Regions from separate parts of the Homo sapiens genome. Here region 1 is linked to region 2. Evidence: promoter capture Hi-C in human tissues and cell types (Jung and others, 2019). All regions are on one chromosome and are shown on one strand. Each heading gives the region's core, a stretch centred on a gene start or on the middle of the fragment in contact. The rest is flanking DNA. Distances are from core to core; before and after follow the strand shown.

Evidence for each region. The method cuts DNA at HindIII sites, captures the fragments that hold promoters and counts their contacts. A contact is called where the count stands out against the background at its distance.
Region 1: a fragment that was not itself captured here is called in contact with the fragment with the promoter of HNF4A in region 2 in 3 of the 25 tissues and cell types used here (heart right ventricle, hippocampus and pancreas).

The regions. Positions count from the first base shown.
Region 1 is chr20:44,436,899-44,442,143 of GRCh38, forward strand. No RefSeq gene overlaps it. Among named protein-coding and RNA genes, the nearest start is that of LINC01430, 11 kb to the right of the region's middle. The HindIII fragment of the contact is 6,695 bases long and covers 1-5,206 here.
Region 2 is chr20:44,353,595-44,359,085 of GRCh38, forward strand. It overlaps HNF4A (hepatocyte nuclear factor 4 alpha), which reads left to right and starts at 2,105. Exons shown (of 10, transcript NM_175914.5): 1 at 2,105-2,259. The coding sequence starts at 2,211. R3HDML-AS1 (R3HDML antisense RNA 1) reads right to left here and starts at 1,648. Exons shown (of 4, transcript NR_184036.1): 1 at 1,425-1,648. It overlaps HNF4A-AS1 (HNF4A antisense RNA 1), which reads right to left. Exons shown (of 3, transcript NR_172878.1): 3 at 3,150-5,491. The HindIII fragment of the contact is 37,265 bases long and covers 1-5,491 here.

The DNA of each region.
Region 1 (5,245 bases), core at 609-3,108, 83 kb after region 2:
AAGGACCGCTGTAACTTCCATTACTTATTTTTCATTAAATCAGTTCAACATGATTCCCCTTAAACTTCAGGTCACTGACATAAATAGGAAACCAGCATCATTTGCCGTAAATAAGAGGTGACTGCAAAATTAGTGAAAAGAAAACAATGTTTTTCAGCTGCAGCCAGGTGGAATCGCCCCAGGGAAAGCTCTGCTCTTGTTTTCGTATTAAAAAGGAAAACTGACAAATATTACAGAGATGTTACGGGCATACACGTACCCAATGGAGACTTTCTCCTTAAAGCTTTCAGAAAAGGCCTGTAAAGGACAGACTTTGGGGACAATATCACTTAATACCTTCCAGTATGTTTCTAAAACTTCCCCCAGTTCCACTGGAAGCCCTCATCCACTTCTGGAAGCTCACTCACTAGGACAGCTGGCCCGCACACAAGTGGTGGGGACCTCAAATACTGGACAGAGGAGTATGGAATTTCTTCCGGGGAAAAGGAAGCCACTAGAGGTTTCTGTTTGTTTTTTGAGAGGGGTTCTCGCTCTGTCACCCAGGCTGGAGTGCAATGGCGCGATCTTGGCTCGCTGCAATCTCTATCTCCCAGGTTCTAGCAAGTCTCCTGCCTCAGCCTCCCAAGTAGCTGAGATTACAGGAGCATGCAACCACACCCAGATAATTTTTGTATTTTTAGTAGAGATGGGGTTTCGCCATGTTGGCCAGGCTGGTTTCCAACCCCTGACCTCAAGTGATCCACCCGCCTTGGCCTCCCAATATGCTAGGATTACAGGCATGAGCCGCCACGCCCGGCCCACTGGAGGTTTGAGAGCAGTGAAGGTTGTAGGCAGATCTGTATATATGTATATAAAGATACATATATTTATATATATTATATATTATATATTTATATATTTTATATTATATATTTTTATATTATATATATTTTATATTATATATTTTATATATATTTTTATATATCTATATATTATATATTTTATATATATTTTTATATATTTATATATTATATATTTTATGTATATTTTATATATTTATATATTATATATTTATATATATTTATATATTATATATTTGTATATTATATATTTGATATATTATATATGTTTATATATTATATGTTTATATATTATATATGTTTATATATTATATGTTTATATATTATATATGTTTATATATTATATGTTTATATATTATATATTTATATATTATATGTTTATATATTATATATTTATATATTATATGTTTATATATTATATATTTATATATTATATGTTTATATATTATATATTTATATATTATATGTTTATATATTATATATTTATATATTATATGTTTATATATTATATATTTATATATTATGTTTATATATTATATATTTATATATTATATATGTTTATATATTATATATTTATATATTATATATGTTTATATATTATATATTTATATATTATATATGTTTATATATTATATATTTATATATGTTTATGTATTATATATATTATATATGTATGTATGTTTACATACATATATACATATGTGCGTATGTAAACATACTTATATACATATGTGTGTATGTATGTTTATATACTTATACATATGTATATATATATATTTATACATATATGTGTGTGTGTATATATATATATTTTTTTTTTTTTGAGACAGGGTCTCCCTCTGTCACCCAGGCTGGAGTGCAGTGGCGCAATCACAGCCCACTGCAACCTCTGCCCCCTGGGCTCAAGTGATCCTCCTACCTCAGCTTCCTGAATAGCTGGGACCACAGGCACCAACAACTATTTTTTTGTATTTTTAGTAGAGACGGGGTCTTGCCATGCTGTCCAGGCTTGTCTTGAACTCCTGAGCTCAAGCAGTCCACCCGCCTCGGCCTCACAAAGTGTTGGAATTACAGGTGTGAGCCACTGCACCTGGCCAGATCTGTATCTTTAAAACAACACCCTGGCTGCTTTGTGGCAGACGAAGAGGTGCAACTGTAAGCTGGGAGACCAATGAAGACACAAGTGCACTGGATCAGGTGAGAGGTAGTGATGTCTACAACAAGATGGTGGCAGTGGAGTAGAGAAAAGCACCAATCCAAGAGACTTTCATTCATTCATTCATTCATTCGTTCATTCAACAAATATTTAGTGAGTGTCTATCTGTTGAACATTTTTCTGAGTCTGAGAGGTAGGCAGGGGTGAGACCAGAGGTAGCCTTCTAGGCCACGAGAAAGATTCTGGATTTTCTTGTTGGTATAGTAGGAAGCTCTTCATTTTTGAATAGAGAAGTGATATGATCTGCTTGATGTTCTTAAAAGGCCACTCTCTGCTGTATAGATAATGGACTATGTGGAAAAACAGTGGAAGCAGAGACGCCCACAGGTGGCCTGGGCAGTGGTCCAGGTGAAAGATGATGGCAGCATGGACTAGGGTTGTGGAGTGGGCAGAATTTTTTAAATGCCCCCCAAGACGCCTGCCTTTGGTGCATACACACCTTCTTTCAGTTATCCAATTAGACATGAATCTAGGTGTTCCTGTGAAGAGATTTTGCAGATGTAATTTAAGTCCCAAACCAGCTGACTTTTTGATAGAGAGATATTCTTTGGTGGGCCTGGCCTAATCAGGTGAGGCCATAAAGGGAGCTGAACTCTTTCTATGAAATTAGAAACATGAGAATTAGAAACGTGAGAAATTAGAAATGTGATTCCACATAAGGGAGAGTCTCTGTTGCTGGCTTTGAAGACAAGGGGGCCACTTGGCAAGGGATGCAAGTGGCCTCTAGAAACTGAGAGACCCCTGGCTGACAACCAGCAAGAAAATGGTGACAGGGTGACAGTCCAACGACCATGAGGAACTGAATGCAGGCAACAACATGAATGAGCTTGGATCCTTTCCTAGAGCCCTCAGGTAGGTACACAGCCCAGTCGTTTAAGAACCCGAGCAGGAGACCCAATCACACCACATCTGGACTGCTGGACTATAGACCTGTGAGATCACAAATGGGCAGCGTTTTCTTTTCTTTTCTTTGGAAACAGAGTTTCGCTCTTTTTGCCCAGGCTGGAGTGCAATGATGTGATCTTGGTTCACTGCAACCTCCACCTCCCAGGTTCAAGTGATTCTCCTGCCTCAGCCTCCCAAGTAGCTGGGATTACAGGCATGCACCACCACGCCCAGCTAATTTTGTATTTTTAATGGAGATGGGGTTTCACCGTGTTGGCCAGGCTGGTCTCGAACTCTTGACCTCAGGTAATCTGCCCACCTCGGACTCCCAAAGTGCTGGGATTACAGGCGTGAGCCACTGTGCCCAGCTGACAAATGGGCAGTGTTTTAAGCATCTGCATTTGTGGCAATTTGTTATGCAGCAATAGAAAATGAATACAGGTGGTGGTGGTGAGAGGCGGTCAGAGTGGAGTGTTCTGGAAGTAGAACAGCCAAGAACTTACTAAGGTATGTGAAGGAAAGTAACTGTGGCCAGGTGGTGCTGTCTGTTGACAGAGGAAGACTGGAGGAGCTGCAAATTTGGGTTAGAAAATAAGAGCTTGGTTTTGGATGTGCTGTTTGAGATCCCAATTAAACATCCAGGGACTTGTTGGATATATGAGTCTAGAGCTTGGGGAAAAGTTGGGGCTAGAGATAAAGAGTCTAAGTCATAAGCATAGATGAGAAGTTTAATAATCAACTGGGCTGAGCATGGTGCTCACTCCTGTAATCCCAGAGCTTTGGGAGGCGAAAAAGGGAGAATCCCTTGAGGCCAGGAGTTCGAGACCAGCATCGGCAACACAGCAAAACCCCCGTCTCTACAAAAAATTAAAAAAAAAAAAAAAGGTAGGTGTGCTGGCACATGCCTGTAGTCCCAGCTCCTCTGGAGGCTGAGGCAGGAGAATTGTTTAAGCCCAAAAGTTTGAGGTTGCAGTGAGCCATGATCAAACCACTGCACTTTAGCCTAGATGATAGAGCAAGACCCTGTCTCTATTGAAGAAAAAAAAGTCAATAGGAAGATTGCTCAGCAATAAAAAGAAGAGAACTACTGATACAAACAACATGGGCCCAGTCGTGGTGGCTCTATTCCTAGCACTTCGGGAGGCGGAGGAGGGGGTGGATCATTTGAGGTCAAGAGGTCAAGACCAGCCTGGCCAACATGGTGAAACCCCATCTCTATTAAAAACACAAAAATAAGCTGGGTGTGGTGGCACATGCCTGTAATCCCAGCTACTCAGGAGGCTGAAGCAGAAGAATTGCTTGAACCCTGGAGGCGGAGGTTGCAGTGAGCTAAGATCGAGCCACCGCACTCCAGGCTAGGCGACAGAGGGAGACTTAGTCTCAAAAAAGAAAAAAAAGAAAACCATGGAACTCAAACTCATAACACTAGGTGAAAGAAGCCAGGCTCAGAAGACTACATACTATATGATTCCATCTCTGTGATGTTCTGGAGAAGGCAAAACCATAGACACAGGTATGTGGCTGCCAGGGGCAAGGGCTGGGGTAGGGGTTTGAATACCAAGGGACACAGGGGAGGGGGTTTGGAGTGATGGGAATGCTCTGAGAAAATCTTGATTGTGATGGTGGTGACATGACTGCATACATGTGCCAAAACGTGCAAAAGCATACACTAAAAAGGGCAAATCTTAGTCTATGGAAATTATACCTTAATTTGGCCAGGTGCGGTGGCACACGCCTGTAATCCTAGCACTTTGGGAGGCCAAGGCAGGCGGATCACCTGAGGTCAGGAGTTTGAGACCAGCCTAGCCAATATGGCAAAAGCCCATCTCTACTAAAAATACAAAAATTAGCTGGGCATGGTGGCGCACACCTGTAATCCCAGCTATTCGGGAAGCTGAGGAAGGAGAATCGCTTGAACCCGGGAGGTGGAGAGGTTGCAGTAAGCCGAGATGGCACCACTACACTTCAGCCTGTGCAACAGGAGTGAGACTCCATCTCAAAAAAAAAAAGAAAGAAAATTATACCTTAATTTAACAAATGAAAGAAATGAAAAGCCAATAGTTGCTTGGGCTCATTGAAGAGTGAAGAGAGGAAACAGAAAATAGGTGAGGACTTCACTCTAGGTTGCACCACCATGGAGGTTGGAGAGAGGGAAAGGGAAAGCTGCAAAGAACAAGTGAGGTGAATAGAGGCCGGGCATGGTGGCTCACGCCCGTAATCCCAGCACTTTGGAAGGCTGAGGTGGGAGGATTGCTTGGAGCAATCCTCAGGTCCCTAGGAGTTCAAGACCCACCAGGGCAACTTA
Region 2 (5,491 bases), core at 855-3,354:
CTGGTGCTCAGGAAGGCAATGTGAGACCTGTTGAAATAGCACGGGCTTTGGGGTCAGATGATGCTGAATTCCAGTTCTGTGTTGGCTCCTTCGTAGTTATGTGACCTCATGACGCCACTTCATGCAGGGGGTTACGTACCACTTAAATCTCCAGAACATTTTGGGAAATTGACATAGGGTTAGCAAACCTCCCCCACCCCCATATAAAAATATTAATACTTTTTTTTTTTCTGAGATGGAGTCTGGCTCTGTCGCCAAGGCTGCAGTGCAGTAGTGCAATCTTGGCTCACTGCAACATTTGCCTCCTAGGTTGAAACGATTCTCCTCCTTCAGCCTCCCGAGTAGCTGAGATTACAGGTGCTCGCTGCCACACCCAGCTAATTTTTGTATTTTTAGTAGAGATGGGATTACACCGTGTTGGCCAGCCTGGTCTCAAACTCCTGACCTCAAGTGATCCACCTGCCTCAGCCTCCCAAACTGCTGGGATTACAGGCATGAGCCACTACACCCGACCAAGAATATTAATACTTTTTTTTAAAAAATATCGAAGTTATTTATTTATTTATTTATTTATTTATTTATTTATTTATTTTGAGATGGAGTCTCTCTCTGTTGCCCAGGCTGGAGTGCAGTGGCACGATCTTGGCTCACTGCAACCTCTGTCCCCCTGGTTCAAACGATTCTCTTGCCTCAGCCTCCCGTTTGCCACCATGCCCGGCTAATTTTTTTATTTTTGGTAGAGACGGGGTTTCACCATGTTGGTCAGGCTGGCCTCAAACTCCTGACCTCGTGATCGGTGCGCCTCGGCCTCCCAAAATGCTGGGGTTACAGGCGTGAGCCACTGCACCCGGCCCCAAAATCTAACGTTTGTTATCACTGTTGTTTTAGAAAAGAAAGGACATTTTAATGCAACCCATGCCCATCTGTAGGGGCTGAAGGTCCCTCTGAGGTGATTGATAAAGCTGAAAAAAGAGACTATGGGAAGAGAAGAGGAATATTATCAATTAGCTATTTTAGAAGCAGGGCAAACTATGAGCTAGGTATTCCTATAAGGAAATGAAATAATTTACTAAAAAACATACAGCAAGAAAATAATAGAGCTGGAGTTTTCTGATTTTTCTGAGTCCAGAATTTGTTTCACTGTTCTCATTTCAGCTCTCTCTAACAGGATGAATGACCTTGATTTCAGAATCCCCAAGCAGGTGGTGAGATCCAAAACTGAGACAAAAGAAACGGGGCTGTTCCAAAAAAAAAGCTAGGTGGCAGGTGTCTAACATGCCAGGGAGCTAAAACAGAGTGTGTGAGTTTCAGCAGCAGGTTGAATTTAGAATGGGGAAGGAGACCAGAGGAGACGCCAGACAGGATGACTTTGTCCCATTGGCCTGGAGGCAGCCCCATGTTTCTCCACCCCTCATATCACTCACCAGTTTGTAATAGTATCTTTGAATGACGATCTGATTAAGGTCCGTCTCCTCCATTAGTCCACAAGTTTCGGGGGTACATCTACTTTGCTCATTTCCATATCCCCAGAGTCTAGCACAAGGCCTGGTACATAGTAGGTGCTCAATAAATATGTTAGATGAAAGGAAGATAACACCTCTATGTACTAGCAGTGAGACTCCAGGCATGCAATTTCTCTCTGTCCTTCAGTCCCTTCATCTCAAGGTTTAATTTAAATATGGTAACGCCTGTATGCAACTCCCAGCATCCAGTAGGCACTCACTAAACACAGTTCTCCACCCTCCTTTTTTCCTCTGCCCCTCCCTCGGTTTTCCCACTACTTCCTGCATGGTGACACACCCATAGTTTGGAGCCATAAAACCCAACCCAGGTTGGACTCTCACCTCTCCAGCCCCTTCTGCTCCGGCCCTGTCCTCAAATTGGGGGGCTGATGTCCCCATACACCTGGCTCTGGGTTCCCCTAACCCCAGAGTGCAGGACTAGGACCCGAGTGGACCTCAGGTCTGGCCAGGTCGCCATTGCCATGGAGACAGCAACAGTCCCCAGCCGCGGGTTCCCTAAGTGACTGGTTACTCTTTAACGTATCCACCCACCTTGGGTGATTAGAAGAATCAATAAGATAACCGGGCGGTGGCAGCTGGCCGCACTCACCGCCTTCCTGGTGGACGGGCTCCTGGTGGCTGTGCTGCTGCTGTGAGCGGGCCCCTGCTCCTCCATGCCCCCAGCTCTCCGGCTGGGTGGGCTTGGCCATGGTCAGCGTGAACGCGCCCCTCGGGGCTCCAGTGGAGAGTTCTTACGGTAAGTGGGGCTGGGGGAAGACTGGACAGGGCGGGACTGCGGTCAGCTTTGGGAGGCCATGGGACACCTCCCCGTGTGTTTCTTACGGGCCCAAAGCTCCTCCTGGAGCTCCTCTGGAAGGGCAGGAAGCCCCACGGAGGCAATGTGACCGCTTCCCTAAGCTCTCAAGCCGGGGCATGGCCTGCTTGGTGCGAGAAGTGCTGGGAGGGGCCGAGAAGCCCTGGGGCAGAGGCTTGGCTCATTTTGTCTGTCCAGAGGCCTTCCTGGGAATGCATCTCAGGGGTCTTTCCAAAACCCCACAGAGGGTGGGGCTTGGAAGCACCGTCCTGTTTCGATGCGGGGCAAATTGAGGTCCACCAGGAGAGGCTTGCTGGGCCTAGGTCACGTTGCTGGTGCATTATCAAGCTGGGCGTGGGACCGGGCAGCTCGGTCGCTCCGCACCTCCGTTGGCTCTGGATAATGGGGAGGAGGTAGAAAGCGCCGCGCAGGGTGGAGCGTTGGAAAATGAGAATATCTTGTGCGGACGTGTGAAACTCAGATGCAGGGCTAGAAAGCATGTGTTACTGAGAGTGAAAGGCTCAGGCTCACTCCTTAGGGTGACCCCCACATTGGAAGCAACCCAATGTCCCTCAGCAGAGGGAAGACGGGTAAATAAAGCGTGAGACGTCTTTACAGTGGAATGCTATCCCATTGTTCAAGGAAACAACGCACATCTGTGTGTGACAGGGAAGAACCTCTCAGTTAAATTAAGTGAAAACGGTACACTGAAGAACTGTGTAGTTGCTGATAGCGAAACGGATATAGATGTATATATGTACACACGCGTATACGTGTACATTCCACGCATAGAAAATTCGTGGAATGACACAATAAAATTGGTGACAGGTTTGTTTCTGAGGAGGGAAATTCAAGAGAATGTTTTATCTTTTGGGGACACATTTTGGATTTTTTAAAAGTTGGGTGCCTTTTATAAACCTGTTCAAATCACACACCCGCACAGAACTTGGTCTCTGGAATCCAGCAGACCTCGGGGTCTAGTTGTGACTCTGTCACACGGCTCAACATTCACGTGCCTCTTGCTTTCTTTCTGAAGTGGAGACAGGACTAGGATGTGTCTTAAGATCATGGTGGATGCCGTGGGGAACAAGGATGTAAAGCCCTTGATACCACGTGCATTGCAAAGACACAATCAACATTTATGTCATCAATTGCTGAGGACAGAGGGCCAGGGAATGACAGAATCAGGGCCTGATCTCCTGACTCTAGTCAGGAAGAATCTTCTTTGCTTTGACCCCCATCAAACAGGAATATGTGATGCACTGGAAATGGCAGAGGCTGAAGAAACCAACAGCCTGGGAACCCATCCCACACACCAGCTGTGTGACCTTGGGCAAGACATTTCCCCTCTCTGAACCTATTTCCTCATCTGTAAAATGAAGATAACAACAGGACCTATCTCCCAGAGAGCGGGGAGATTAGAGGAGATAGCATAGAGGAGATTAAGGGTGAGGCCACCCTTAATCCACAATTTTAAGACCTGGAGTATAGATGCCAATGGATGACTTGGTTGAACCTGTGGCTAGGGGAAGACATTGTCTCTCAAAGGGGCCAGACAGCTTCTGGGGAAGGACAGCCCAGGTCATAAGGCTAAGCTAGGGGTGAACAGAAGGCCCCACAGTGTCTCTTAAAGGATGATACAATAATATAACCTGACAGCCTTTCACTGTCTCCCACGTCTCTGCACCTTGTAGGATGTCCTCATGTCTCTTCATCTCTGCTCCTGTGTCATACTCATTATATAGCAAACATTCAGCAATTATTAGAATGGTTGCTTCTATCGACAGGTAGGTGGGTGAATGGATGGATGAATGGGTTAGTGAATGTTCTACTATTATCTCTCAGACAGCTGTTTCATTTTCCAAACGGCTGTCTGAGATAAATAATATTGTAATCTCCAAGGACAGAAGAAAAAACTAAGGTTCAAGATTAAAAAAAAAACACAAACAAACAAAAAATGTCATCTGACTCGAGACTTGACACAATCCAGCTGTTGCTGGCCCTCTGCTCTAGGCCACAGATATGGCTGGACAGAGAAAGGAGAACTCCAGTGACCTTGCAGTACATCCACAAAAAATGAGCACTTTTGTCCTGGGGCAGTGGAACATTCACTGCAGTGTATGTGTGCCTATGTGTATGTGTGTGAGAGTGGCTGAAAGACCCTGATTTGATATTTTTGATAAAATACACCTGGGTTAGCATCCTAGATCTACCTTATTTAAAAAAAAAAAACAAAACAAAAAACTGTGTGGTCTTGTGAGTCAAATCATTACCCCTCTCTGAGCTTCACATGTTTTATCTGTAAAATGAGCTACTGAAGTCTGCTGGAAGGCTCCAGAAAAAAAAAAAAAAGAAAAGAAAAATTTGCTTTCTGAGAAAAGAAACAAGTGCTCCGAGGAAACAAAACCCCTCTCCCAGGCTGGGTGCAGTGGCTCACGCCTGTAATCCCAGCACTTTGGGAGGCTGAGGCGGGCAGATAACTTGAGATTAGGAGTTCGAGACCAGCCTGGCCAACATGGCAAAACCCCGTCTCTACTAAAAATACAAAAACTAGCCGGGTATGATGGCACACGCCTGTAATTCCAGCTACTTGGGAGGCTGAGGCATGAGACTCACTTGAACCTGGGAGGTAGAGGTTGCATTAAGCTGAGATCATGCCACTGCCACTCCAGCTTGGGCAGCAGAACAAGACTCTATCTCAAAAAAAACAAAACAAAACAAAAAAACAAAAAACAAACAAAAAATCTTCTTCTGGGGTTCTCTAATGGGGATAACATTAATCATCTCCTAAGATGACTATAGTAGAGGTGCATTGGTGGGTCAGGGACATGGCACATAGCAGAGCCTCAGTTAGAGGCAGAGGAAGACATGGCTGTTGTGAGGATCAAATGGAAGGATCCATGAGTGCTTAGAACAGTCCTGGGTCCAGAGCAAGCACGCAAGAAATCCTCGTTGTGGTTTCATGTTTTTGAGCTTTAGCAGGATTCTAAAGAGCTGCTCTTTGGTGTGGTGATGCTGGGTGGACTTGGCCCTCCCTGGACTTCCGGTGCTTCCACGGCACACTGGTTTTGGCTTTGCGGTTCTCGTCATCGCTCTGATCAGATAGTTGCTGGTGTGAATTGTGGTGTCTGGCTGCCCCACCAGACTATAAACTCCGTGAGTTCTGGGACCTGGG